2 separate regions of the Homo sapiens genome follow, and region 2 is linked to region 1. Evidence: promoter capture Hi-C in 16 types of primary human blood cells and fetal thymus (Javierre and others, 2016). All regions are on one chromosome and are shown on one strand. Each heading gives the region's core, a stretch centred on a gene start or on the middle of the fragment in contact. The rest is flanking DNA. Distances are from core to core; before and after follow the strand shown. Region 1 holds the start of COPS4 (COP9 signalosome subunit 4). Region 2 overlaps ENOPH1 (enolase-phosphatase 1).

Region 1 (6,609 bases), core at 2,443-4,942:
TCAAAAGATCGAGACCATCCTGGCCAACATGGTGAAACCCTGTCTCTACTAAAAATACAAAAAAAAGTAGTCGGGTGTGGTGGCATGCACCTGTAGTCCCAGCTACTTGGGAGGCTGAGGCAGAAGAATCGGTTGAACCCGGGAGGCAGAGGTTGCAGTGAGCCGAGATCGCGCCACTGCACTCCAGCCTAGGCAACAAGAGTGAAACTCCATCTCAAAACAAAACAAAACAAACAAACAAACAAAAAAAACAGGTAAGTGCTAATATAATTTTTAGGAGAGAGAAATCATTGGATGGGGTTGATCTTTAAACATTCTAAGTATTTCAATTTAATAACAGTAGGAAGACAGGCATTCTAGGCAAAAATAATCACTATCTGAAGTGTAGTCAATTTTTTTTTGTGAAAATAAGGCCAAAAAGGTAGATGTGTTTGTTTAGAGTTAAGGGCTCATAGGCAAGCAGATATGGACTGTCTTCTAGCTTCACCACTAGCTGTGTGACCTCAGAGCAAGGTATTTCAACTCTGTACTTTGGTTTTCTCTTATTATAATGTAAATAATATCACTACTATCACCTACTCCTACTTGTTAAGGATTTTTAAATGTAAGTAATGTTGTGCTTCGCACAGTAAACTCTAGATGTTATTGACTTTCACTCTAGAGATGAAAACCACTAAAACTGTTGTGTTTGGGACAACAAAGAGAGAATCAGAATCTGAGTTAGAAGGGGCCTTTGAGGCTATCCTCAATAAAGTCTATCCTCCGTTGTGGCTCTCCTATTCTAAAGCTTTATGTGAGATAATAAATACAATGCATAATATGCACAAAAGCAGCCTATAAAATGGAGGAAATGCTTTTCCTCTGGCTAATTTCTTATATAAACTTTAGACAGCTGTGTTAATTCACAGTTATGGGAAAGCATTTCTAACTGAGTTTTTAACAAGAAAACGAGCATAGTCTGGTAGGTTTAAAATGAGCTTTTTAGAGTAGATGAACCTGGATTCAAATACAAGCACTGCCCCTTTCTAGCTATTCATTAATTCAACCACGTTTATTGAACAACTACTGTTACAGATATCCCAATTGCTAGGAACACACAGTATTGATGTTTTAGAAACAATGTATTCCATTATTCTTTAATATGGAATCCTTTGTTACTCAGCTCCTAAAAAAAACACCCAAAAACCTTCATTAAAAGTACATACAAGAAAAAATACATTAAAAAAAAACACACTGATATATTTCAAGGGTATTTCTCTTAAAGCATATAGCTGGTAGAACTGATGTTGTTGTAAGGATAAATATCCTGCTACATTCTTGCCCACATAGGAAATGCAGGCAAGGCCAAGACTTTTCTCAGAAAGCAGCTCTGAAGGAGTTATGGCTAAGACTGCACTGGCTATCAGTTATCAAGCACATTATTTCATTTAATCTTCACAATAACACCATGTGGTAGACTGCTACAGTAACGGCTTCCAATGAATCGTGTCTCCCTCTGTCCAGGCTCCTTTGCAATGTAACTTTGCCACTAAAGAGGTAGTAGTAAGCTCCATTTCCCCTCCCCTTGAATCTGGGCTGGTCTTCTGATTTACTTTGACCAGTACTAGAGAACTGACGTGAGACTTCCTAGGCTATCCTTAAGAGGTCTTGCGACTTCCCCTCTCATAGGCACCTAAGAAAGCCCAAGCTAAACTACTGAATGAGAGACTGTGCAGAGAGAGAGAGAGATCCAGGCAAGAGCAAGATATGCATGTGAGTCCCGCCCCAGGTGTGTTGCCAGCTGACTATATCTGCATGAGTGAGCCCAGACAAGACCAGCAAAGCAGTCCAGTCAACCCATAGAATCCTGAGAAATCATAGTTGTTTTACACTGGTTAAGTTTTTGGTTTGTTACAAAGCAACAGATAACTGAAGCACGCTTTAAGTACTATTGTTTATCTCCAATTCAGACCTGAAGAAGTAAATACTTAAGTTTCAGAATTCTGCAAATACTTGCAAAGCTCTATTTCTTTTGATAACTAATGCACTTATTCTTCTTTAACAAAATAAAAAGTAAAGGAAGCATGGGGAAAAATATAAGCTGATTTTACTTTCATCCATATAAAAATTACAAGCAGAAAGGATTGAGCCATGAAGACATATTTAACTTATTTCCAACCCATACAATAAGTGAATATATATTTACTGACAGCTTAATAGTAACAACAACAATCTTACCGCACTTTCTATATGTCAGGTACTGTTCTACGTGATATAAGTGTGGTAAGTATATATGCACACACATACTCATCTTGTCCTCAGATAATGTCAGACAAGAATAAGTCCTATTATTATCTTCATTTTCCTGAGTGGGAAAATGCAGCACAAAGTAGTTAAGCCCAAAATATACGGCTGAATTTCCCACTGATAAAAGTAGATTACGTTTGCCACCAGAGAAAAGGCAGCCTAGCCTACTTAAAACAGTCAGAATTTCAATGACCAGGTTAGAACAGGTGTATCCCATTAATATACATCAAAGTGATTTCAGCTGTCAGGATGTAAACATTAAGATCAACTTGAGAGGCATACTTTATTTACTTATTTATTTACGGAGACGGGTGGCGGCGGGGGGGGGGGTCTCACTATGTTGCCCAGGCTGGTCTAGAACTCCTGCCCTCAAGTGATCCTCCCTCTCAGATCTCTCAGGCCTCAAGTGATCTCAGCCTCTCAAAGTGCTGGGATTACAGGCGTGAGCCACTGCACCCGGCCTAGAGAGGCATACTTTAAACAGAAAGCATGTTCATTACAAAAGAGAAATGCTGTGACATCTACAAAGAGAAAATGAACAATATACGTCTACCTACCTATGCTTAATACTGTTGACAACTGCTTGCAGAACAGGCACGTCACACATTTTAACTTGGAGTGAACCTAAGCATTCTATATAAATTTCGACAAAATTCAGATTCCTGCAAACATCACTACTGTAGACATCCTGACCCACGATATGAGCACATTCCGCCTATGTGCCATCAGAGTTGGTGGCAGAGAAAATACCCGAAACACAAGGACCCACAGAAGACAGTCTGAATGGTCTGGACGACATGACAGCGGCCATACCGCCTCAACCTCAGCCAGCCCCAAGAAGCCATCTCCCCGAAAAACGCAGCATCAAGGCCCCAGAATATACATTTCTCTGAATCAAAAAAAAAGAGGAGGAAGGTCCAAAGAGAGGCCAGATTCGGTGTGAGGCCGGCCAGCGATGGGAAGAGGTACCAGGGAAGGCTACTAAGGCCAGGGTAGCAGTCGTCTCTCAGACCGCTGTTCCAAAATCCTAAGGGACCAGAAAGATTCTATCAAGAACTGAACAAGCTGACAATCATTTCAAGTCTATAGCCTCGAAGGCCCCTGCACAAGGTCCCCTCCAGCTTTCTGCTTCTCCCAACATTTGCCTCCCCAGCCGACCTCAGGCCCGCCCCCTTGGACGTCAGGCCGGCTCCTAGCTTCACGCCCAAGAGCCGTGGCCAACCTAAGGAGATTAAGGCTGTGGCTTTCTTTCCCCACCTCTGTACTCCCGCGTTCCTGGGAAATACTCACTTGCCAGCCAGATCTTTATGAGAGCCGCTCGAATTCATGAGCTGGGCCAAATCCTGTCGCACGGCTGCCGCCATCTTTCTCCCAGCTCAGCGGTGGATGCGGGGGCCTCTGGCAGCCAAAAAGAAAACGAGTGTGGTCCTCCAGAGTGCAGCCAGAGGGAACCTGAGATGCTACAGAGTAGCGTCTGTGTGGGCCAGAGCGTCGGGTGTGGGAGCCTGGGCTAGCTCCGCCCCCAGGGTTGAGTGATGCGGAGCTCCACTCCTCAGGTCTGAGGCCTGCCCAGGTCTCTCCTACAGGCTCTGGCTCTCACGCTTGGACTTTGGATTGGCTGATGAACTCCAGTAGTGAGTCTCTGGTGTAACTCCAATGAGTAGCCGGTACATAAAACGACTGCGTTTTCGCAAAGTTCCGTTTCTCACGTCTGTGGTTTACCGTCCTTCGATCTTTCAGGCAGCGCTTAAACTGCCTGTGGTAAAGAATGAGTTTTGTTTCCGATTCACCACAGAAGATACTTTTTAGAAATACAATTAAAATGTCCCTATTCCTCCTCCCACTCCGTGCACTTTATAATGGTTGGTCAGACATTCCAGTTTGTCCAGTACAAAGCGATTTTCCCTCTGTCGTCCTGGAGTAATGATTAATATCCCCCCTTTCGGCCGGGCGCGGTGGCTCACGCCTGTAATCCCAGCACTTTGGGCAGCCGAGGCGGGCGGATCACGAGGTCAAGAGATCGAGGCCATCCTGGCTAACACGGTGAAACCCCGTTCTCTACTAAAAATACAAAAAAATTAGCCGGGCGTAGGTGGTGCACCCCTGTAGTCCCAGCAACTCGGGAGGCTGAGGCAGGAGAATGGCGTGAACCCGGGAGGCGGAGTTTGCAGTGAGCCGAGATCGCGCCACTGCACTCCAGCCTGGGAGACACAGCGAGACTCGGTCTCAAAAAATAATAATAATAATAATAACATCCTCCCTTTCATTCTAGAAACCGTTCCATTTCAATGGAAGATTATATGGTCGCCTGCGTTTGTATAACATTCAATACTCATGTATTCTTATAGAATTTCTGCAAATACAAGCAAATATTAATAAAATAAAATTTTACCTCTCACAAGCAACACCACATAATTGTTCTGCCTTGGTTTTTTTTTTTTGCACTTTTCCTGGTACTGTGGTTTGAAATAATTGTCTTCTCCAAAACTCATGTTGAGGGCTGGCGCCGTGGCTCACGTCTGTAATCCCAGCACTTTGGGAGGCCGAGGTGGACGGATCACCTGAGGTCGGGAGTTCGAGACCAGCCTGACCAACATGGAGAAACCCCGTCTCAACTAAAAATACAAAAATTAGCTGGGTGTGGTGGCACGTGCCTGTAATCTCAGCTACTCGGGAGGCTGAGGCACGAGAATCACTTGAAGCTGGAAGGCGAAGGTTACGGTGAGCCAAGATTGCACCACTGCACTCCAGCCTGGGCAACAAGAGGGAAATTCCGTCTCAAAAAAAAAAAAAAAAACAAACAACTCATGTTGAAACTTCATCTTTAATGTGGCAGTATTTAGAGGTGGGCCTTAAATAGGTGATTGGATCATGAGGGCAAAACCCTTGATCTATTCATGGATTAATGGGTTGTCATGGGAGAGAACATGTGGCTTTATTAGAAGAGGAAGAGACCTGAGCTAGCATGTTAGGAAGGTCACTCCCTTGCCATGTGATACCCTGTGCTGCTTCTGAACTCTAGCAAGTCCCCACCAGCAAGAAGGGTCTCATTAGATGTGGCCCCTTGACCTTAGACTTCTTGGCCTTCATAACTCTAAGATATAAATTCCTTTTCTTTATAAATTACCCAGTTTCAGGTATTCTGGTATAAGCAACAGAAAACAGACTAAGACAGCTGGACATCTTACCAGCTGTCCAGTCTTTCAAAATCACTCTTTTTGGAGCTAGAGGATATTACACAGTGAGAGTATGCCTTAGTTTATTTAATCCTTATAGGACATGTTATTTTTAATCAATGCGATGAATAACCTTTGCATACATTATATATGTACAGGTAGAACACATTACCAGAAATGAGGCAAAGGATAGACATACAATTTTGGTAGATATTGCCAAATTGCATTTTATAGGAATGGTATCATTTTGCCTTCCTACCAGAAATATATAGGGGTGCAGCTTCCTACAGCCTTGACTACAAAGGATGTCAAACTTTTGGATTTTTGCCATCTTGATGTGTGATAAATGGCATATTCCCTCTATTGGGAAAGAGAAAGAGAAGAATACCTGAAGAAGGAATCCCTTTTAAGAATGTGTATTAGTCTGTTCTCAGCCAGGCGTGGTGGCTCATGCCTGTAATACCACCACTTTAGGAGGCCAAGGCAGGTGGATCACCTGAGGTCAGGAGTTCGAGACCAGCCTGCTCAACATGGTGAAACTCTTTCTCTACTAAAAACACAAAAAATTAACCAGGCGTGGTGGCGGGTGCCTGTAGTCCCAGCTACTTAGGAGGCTGAGGCAGGAAAATCGATTGAACACAGGAGGCGGAGGCTGCAGTGAGCTGAGATCGTGCCACTGCACTCCAGCCTGGGTGGCAGAGTGAAATCTCAAAAATAAAATAAATAAAAAAAGAATGTATATTAGTCTGTTCTCACACTGCTATAAAGAACTACCTGAAACTGGGCAATTTGTAAAGAAAAGAGATTTAGGCCGGGCATGGTGGCTCACGCCTGTAATCCCAGCACTCTGGGAGGCCGAGGCGGGTGGATCACGAGGTCAGGAGATCGAGACCGTCCTGGCTAACACGATGAAACCCCGTCTCTACTAAAAATACAAAAAAATTAGCCAGGCGTGGTGGCGGGCGCCTGTAGTCCCAGCTACTCGGGAGGCTGAGGCAGGAGAATGGCGTGAACCCGGGAGGCGGAGCTTGCAGTGAGCCGACATCGTGCCACCGCACTCCAGCCTGGGCGACAGAGCGAGACTCCGTCTCAAAAAAAAAAAGAAAAGAGATTTAAATGACTCATAGTTCCACAGCCTTACAGGAGG
Region 2 (6,609 bases), core at 2,091-4,590, 600 kb after region 1:
GGGATTACAAGCGTGAGCCACCGCGCCCAGCCCCCATTGGTGGGCTATTATTTCTTTCTTTTTTTTTTGGACGGAGTGCAGTGGCATGATCTTGGCTCACTGCAACTTCGTCTCCTGGGCTCAGGTGATCCTCCCACCTCAGCCTCCTGAGTAGCTGGGACTACAGGCGTGAGCCACCATACCCAGCTAATTTTTTGAATTTTTAGTAGAGATGGGGTTTCGCCATGTTAGCCAGGCTGGTCTCAAGCTCGTGGACTCAGGCAATCATCCCATCGCGGCCTCCCAAAGTGCTGGCATTACAGGCATGAGCCACCATGACCGGCCCCACATAAATTTATGTTGCTTTTTATTCTCTAACATTAATAGAGACATACGCCCGGGCGCGGTGGCTCCGCCTGTAGTCCCAGCACTGTGGGAGGCCAAGGCCAGTGATCACTTGAGGTCACGAGTTTGAGATCAGCCTGGCCAACATGGTGAAACCCCCTCTCTACTAAAAACAAAAACTTAGCCAGGTGTGGTGGCTCGCGCCTGTAATCCCAGACATGAGAATTGCTTGAACCCAGGAGGAAAAGGTCACGGTAAGCCAAGATCACGCCACTGCACGCCAGCCTGGGCGATAGAGCAGGACTCTGTCTCAACAACAACAAACAAAATTAACTGGCTTGATGGTTCCTAAATATAAATCACATCATACAAATAATTAATAAAACAGGTTACAAACAGTATGTACAGCATAATCCTATCGGGGGGATATTTAACACACTGAACAAAATATGAGAGAACATGAACTTAAATGTTTACAAAGGTTCTCTCTGGGTTATGACATTAAAAGAAACTTTTTTGCATATCTCTTTTCTGCAATAAAAATGTATAACCTTAATAGTGCTAAAAGTTAGCAAAACTAAGTGTTAAAAAAAAAATCATAGATTGCCGACAGTGTTTTTTTTGTTTGTTTTTTTGAGACAGAGTCTCGCTCTGTCACCCAGGGTGGAATACAATGGTGCGATCTCAGCTCACTGCAACCTCCACCTCCTGAGTTCAAGCAATTTTCCTGCCTCGGCCTCCTGAGTAGCTGGGATTACAGGTGTGTGCCACCACGCCCAACTGATTTTTGCATTTTTAGTAGAGATGGGGTTTCACCATGTTGGCCAGGCTGGTCTCGAACTCCTGACCTCTGATGATCCCCCGCATCTTGGCCTCCCAAAGTGCTGGGATTACAGGAGCCACCACCAAGCTGGCCTGCTGACAGTGTTTTAAATAAAATCACCCCCTACAAAGACAAATAATTAAAGGCTGTATCCAGTGAATAAACTTAGGGGAAATTACATGCAATGGACAAGAAGAGCTAGTTATCTGAGGCAGAATGACTGAAGAATTTAGCAAAATCCAAATTCCAATCAGAATGACTACACTGTGACTTCAAGAGAATAGAGCTTTATCGGCACAGGTAGTGAATCAGCTATACTATGATCAGTCTGAAGAAAGACCACATTTGTGCTGAGCCACTTTTCTTCCCTGGCTCAAAGTCACTTACTTTGATGATCTTGTCACCTAGCATCTTTCTCTGTTAAAGTTAGCCTTCCCATGTAGTTTTCCCACAGATGTTTACTGCCAGATGTCTGTGATAATAGTATTAGGAAAATGTAATACATTAGGCTTTTTTGGTTTTTTAAATTTATTTTTGTTGTTGTTGTTGTTGTTTTTGTAGAGACAGTCTCACTATGTTGCCCAGGCGGGTCGTGAACTCCTGGGCTTAAGTGATCCTCCCATCTCAACCTCTCAAAGTGCTGGGAGTAAATAACTGTCACAAGATCTGATGGTTTTTACTTTATTTTATTTTATTTTGAGATGCAGTCTCGCTCTGTCGCCCAGGCTGGAGTGCAGTGGCGCCATCTCAGCTCACTGCAAGCTCTGCCTCCCGGGTTCACGTCATTCTCCTGCCTCAGCCTCCAGAGTAGCTGGGACTACAGGCACCCGCCACCACGCCTGCCACCACACCCGGCCAATTTTTTGTATTTTTAGCAGAAACGGGGTTTCACCGTGTTAAACAGGATGGTCTCGATCTCCTGACCTCGTGATCTGCCCACCTTGGCCTCCCAAACAGCTGGGATTACAGGCATGAGCCACCACACCTGACAACCTGATGGTTTTATAAAGGGGAGCTCCCTTGAACATGCCCTCTTGCCTGCCACCATATAAAATATCCCTTTGCTCTTCCTTCTTCTTCCACCATGATTGTGAGGCCTCCCCAGCCATGTGGAACTGTAAGTCCATTATACCTCTTTCCTTTATCAACTACTCAGTCTCAGGTATGTCTTTATTAGCAGCATGAGAACAGACTAATACACCAAGCTTTGTTTAAATACTTCTAACAACGAGAATTGCTACTTTTTGGAGTGGTCCATGCCATCTGCCAGATAGTTTCAGCAGTTGTGGTATTAGAATTGCTCTTCAAAAAGGCTTCCTGAAGACCACAGTAGGAGCTATCAAGAAGTTTCTGTGTTCTGGCTGCCACATGGGGCCACATGGTCTCAGGAATTAAAATCCTACTGTCCTCGTCTTCATGGGAGTAAACAGGGCTGGACCCATACAAGGGGTGTAGGTTGAAAACTGAAAGCTTAGGAATGAACATCAGATTTCACATGTGCATTCAAAATGAATTAATCAATGTGGTGCTGATAAGACAAAAGATAGCCCCATTAAGGAGATTAAATTATAATTAACAAAAGATACACTGTTATCTAATTAAGTGCAATGAATCACACTGAACAAGGGATTGTTATCAGTACAAGAGGGCTAGTAATTGGAGTAAGGTTTTAAGAAGCAGCACAAAAGAAACAGAGTATCTCCAATGAGTTCCAGAAAGGGAACTTGACTGGCCCAGAGTCCTAGTCCTTAACAGTGGAGGGGAAAGGAAGGCATTCACATTCATCTCCTTGAATCTGCCTAACATCCCTGCAAAGTAAGCCTTCTTTCATAGAGGAAGACACTGAGGTTCAAAGAGGTTTCGCTGCTGGTGCAGAGTAAAGCCAGGACTCAAACCCAGGCCTATCAAATCCCAACACCTGAAGCCATCCAGCTCTCACGGGTGAATGACTTCAAGGAGCACTACTCACCAGGATCATCTAACTCCCTGGATCTTGACAGCATATTCTCTATGGAAATTTCTAATATAGCTTTGATTCCCCAAAGAGGTTTCATACAAAGAAAATGAGAGATTATGGTTCACCCAGTAGTTCTGTAACATTTCCTATAAAGTATCAGCAATAATAATTCAAGTAGTTATAGTAATGGGAGTAACTGCCAACATTTACTGAGCACTTACTATGACAAACACTTCTCTTTTCTATCTATAATCACTCCTTTGTGATCTTACCTAATTCCATGACTTTAAATACCATTTATACTAATGATCCCCAAATCCTTACCTTTAGCTTGGACCTTTTCCAAATGCCTACCCAATATCCCCACTTGCATGTCTATTCAGTATCTCAAACTAAACACATCTGAAACCAAACTCTTGATTCCATCCCTTAATCCTCCTCCTCCCCCTACATCTCCACATCACAGTAAATGACAGAACCATCCTTCCAGATGCTCAGGCCAAAAACCTTAGAGTCATCTTTGACTCCTCTTTCTCTCAAACTCCACATCCAACCAATCCATCAGCAAATCCCATCAGCTCTACCTTCAAAATATATTCAGATCCAATCACTTCTCACCACTGCCACCACCAAGCACTCAAAATTTACTCAACTTACTGATAATGTCATTTTAATCTTCATAATAACCCTGTGAAATTGGTGCTACTACTTCCTCCATTTTTCAGAGGCACATAAAGGTTAAGTACAAATTAACAAACTGAGATTATAGTTTACCAATCAGGTCTTTCTTTTTGAGTTTATAGAGTCAGATGCCTGGAATCTCCCCAGTATCAGATCGGGGGTAAAGATCCCACTCTTTACCCCCATCAAAGGGATCTAATTACCTTCCTGAACTTACAACGACTTGGACCCATACAAGACCAGTCCAGAGAGAGCTGGAGTAAGTATACACAAGCTTAACTGTCAAACACTGGTCTGATTGTGAGCTCCAAAGTCCCACCAAGGTCTCAATGCTGAAATTACCATTAGTTTCCAAACCGCATGCCTTAGTTTCTCTTTACTCAGTAAAGGGGTACCAGGTCCACACTTTTTAGACTTAAGAAAAGGAACTTGTTAGAAGGTCACATCATGAATCACTGGAAAGAAAATCAAGCTAAGAAATGAACCCCTCATGCACATACCTAGAAGGCAAACAACCCCTTTCTGTCCTAAAGACATTCTGTCTTTGAAAAGAAACCCATTTTCCTGAAATGGTATCACCTGGGAAAGGTCCAGAGAGGATCCAGGAGGGCCTCTGAGGATAAAGCTACCAACTTTCCACACGACTCTTTAGTGAGCTGATGGGAAAATGGGTGCAATAGGATTAGGGCAGGTTGGTTTCCACTCCTCTTCTGACCTGCACCTCCAACAAAACCAGTTTTGAAAATCAAATGAGTTGATAAATGTGAAATTCAAAGTTTCATATAAAAATAACCTTTTATTGTAAAAAAGAATACTTTGTTTTCTTTAGTGGAGTGGTAACACAGGGTAAGCTGCAAGGATAGAAAATTTTAAGACCCATCAGACAAAGAAGAAGTAAGCACTTTTCAGGGCTAAACACAGGGTATCATTTTAAAAGTCTGTATGAGCAAGATAAAATCCAGCCTATGTATTTAAAATATAGGGGTTATAGCTTAAAATCAGTGCCCCTTTTAAAAATTGTTATTTTTTCGATCACGCCACTGCATTCCAGCTCTGTCACCCAGGCTGCATGCAGTGCAGTGGCACAATCACACCTCACCACAGTCTCTACCTCCTGGGCTCAAGTGATCCTCCCACCTCAGCCTCCTGAGTAGCTGGGATTACAGGTGCACATCACCATGTCCAGCCAATTTTTTATTTTTTGTAGAGATGGGGTCTCCCTATGTTGCCCAGGCTGGTCTTGAACTCCTGGACTCAAGTAATCTCCTTGCCATGGCCTTCCAAAGTGCTGGGATTACAGGTGTGAGCCACCATGCCCAACCCCTTTTACTCAATAAGTCTGACTACATATCTTTCAAAGATCTGTATGACTTTACTGTGTACCTAGGGAAAAAAACAGAAGGAATATTCACCAAACTCTTAATGGTCACCTCTGGATGGCAGGAGCATATCAGGGCTTTCACTCTCTATATCATACTCTTCTTTGTCTGCAATTTTATAATCAGGGCGAACTAATTTTCTAGGAAGAATATTTGGGGGGGTAGAAAAACCTTTCCTCTAGTCTTACATTAACAGATGCAAGTTTCTATAAATAACATATTTCACTTTTTATCTTAATTTTGTTAATAAAATTTTCTCTTTTATGACATTTAATTTCCATTATCAGCTGGTTTCATCCTCTATAACTTGTAGGTTTTGGAAATGTTGAGTCAATGAATTCTAATGCCACTCTAGAAACACTTTCAGTTAAATTGTTCAAATATAATAGAGTACCACCTTGAGGAAATCTGAAATAGCAAGGATTGCAGAGTATGGAAGAAACTGAATCCCAGTCCCTCCCACACCCATTCCGGAATGCATATCACCATCACCCAGCATGTTACAGCATGCCTGATGTGTAAGCACTGTGTGAGGCTCTGGTCTCTGCCCTTGAGGAGCCTTCCACACAGCTTGAAAAAGAGGACACACATCCAACATCACAAGTCAGCTATTGGCTCCAGTAGCAAATACTACACATGGTACTGACAATGAGTTCAGAGGACGAAGAGAAAGGACTTTGAAATTCCTGCTTAAATAGGTCCTTTACAAGAAGAGGTAGCTCTTACTTCCATATTCCCACAGCTTAGCACAATAAGTAATTTTTTTTTAAGTTAATGAGTGCATGGGACCCACACTTGGAGACGAAAAGGTATGACATTCCAAGCTGGAAGAATGGTGGCAGCAAGAAAGGGCATGATTGGAATGTGCATGTTCAGCTATGTAAAGTGTAAAGAGAGGGATAGAAAGTTGGAAAACCCAATTTGTTGAACTCTCATCTCACAGCCAGTGAGAGACTACAGAGGACTTTGATTATGCAAAGGCGACCTATTTATGTAACTGTCTTCCTTTCTAGGTTCCCTGAGGAACCTGAGGGTGACAGCTGGGTCTTAAGGACTCTGGATCCCTACCATATCCTGGAACATGACAGGTATTCAATTAAATGTGAGGGAAAGGAAAGAAGGATTGATTAGGCTGGAAAGATTATGCTAATGCCACAATACTGAAGGTTCTAGAAAAATAAGGAACCAGAAATCAAAGTGAGAGGTGCTTTCTTTTTTTATAATTTTTTTTTAAGACAGGGTCTTGCTATGTTGCCCAGGCTGGTCTGAAACTCCTAGCCTCAAGTGATCCTCCAACCTTTGCCTCCCAAAGTGTTCGGATTACAGGGGTGAGCCACCATGCCCATACTGAATTATTTACTTAATGCAGATTCTTTGGGTTCCAACAACGATAGGATGATGATGATGATGATGACGACGATGACATATTCTGTGTGAGAGCAGGA

Evidence for each region. Contacts are between HindIII fragments. The CHiCAGO score rates a contact against its expected background, and 5 or more counts as called.
Region 2: a fragment that was not itself captured here is called in contact with the fragment with the promoter of COPS4 in region 1 in 1 of 17 cell types (fetal thymus); the score reaches 5.1 in fetal thymus.

Annotation. Positions count from the first base shown.
Region 1 is chr4:83,032,266-83,038,874 of GRCh38, reverse strand. COPS4 (COP9 signalosome subunit 4) reads right to left here and starts at 3,692. Exons shown (of 10, transcript NM_016129.3): 1 at 3,577-3,692. The coding sequence starts at 3,650. RefSeq lists enhancers at 3,203-3,262, 2,804-3,309, 3,323-3,382, 3,423-3,472, 3,573-3,922 and 2 more. The HindIII fragment of the contact is 6,632 bases long and covers 790-6,609 here.
Region 2 is chr4:82,436,870-82,443,478 of GRCh38, reverse strand. All of the region lies in intron 1 of ENOPH1 (enolase-phosphatase 1), which reads right to left. Among named protein-coding and RNA genes, the nearest start is that of ENOPH1, 9.6 kb to the right of the region's middle. The HindIII fragment of the contact is 1,442 bases long and covers 2,620-4,061 here.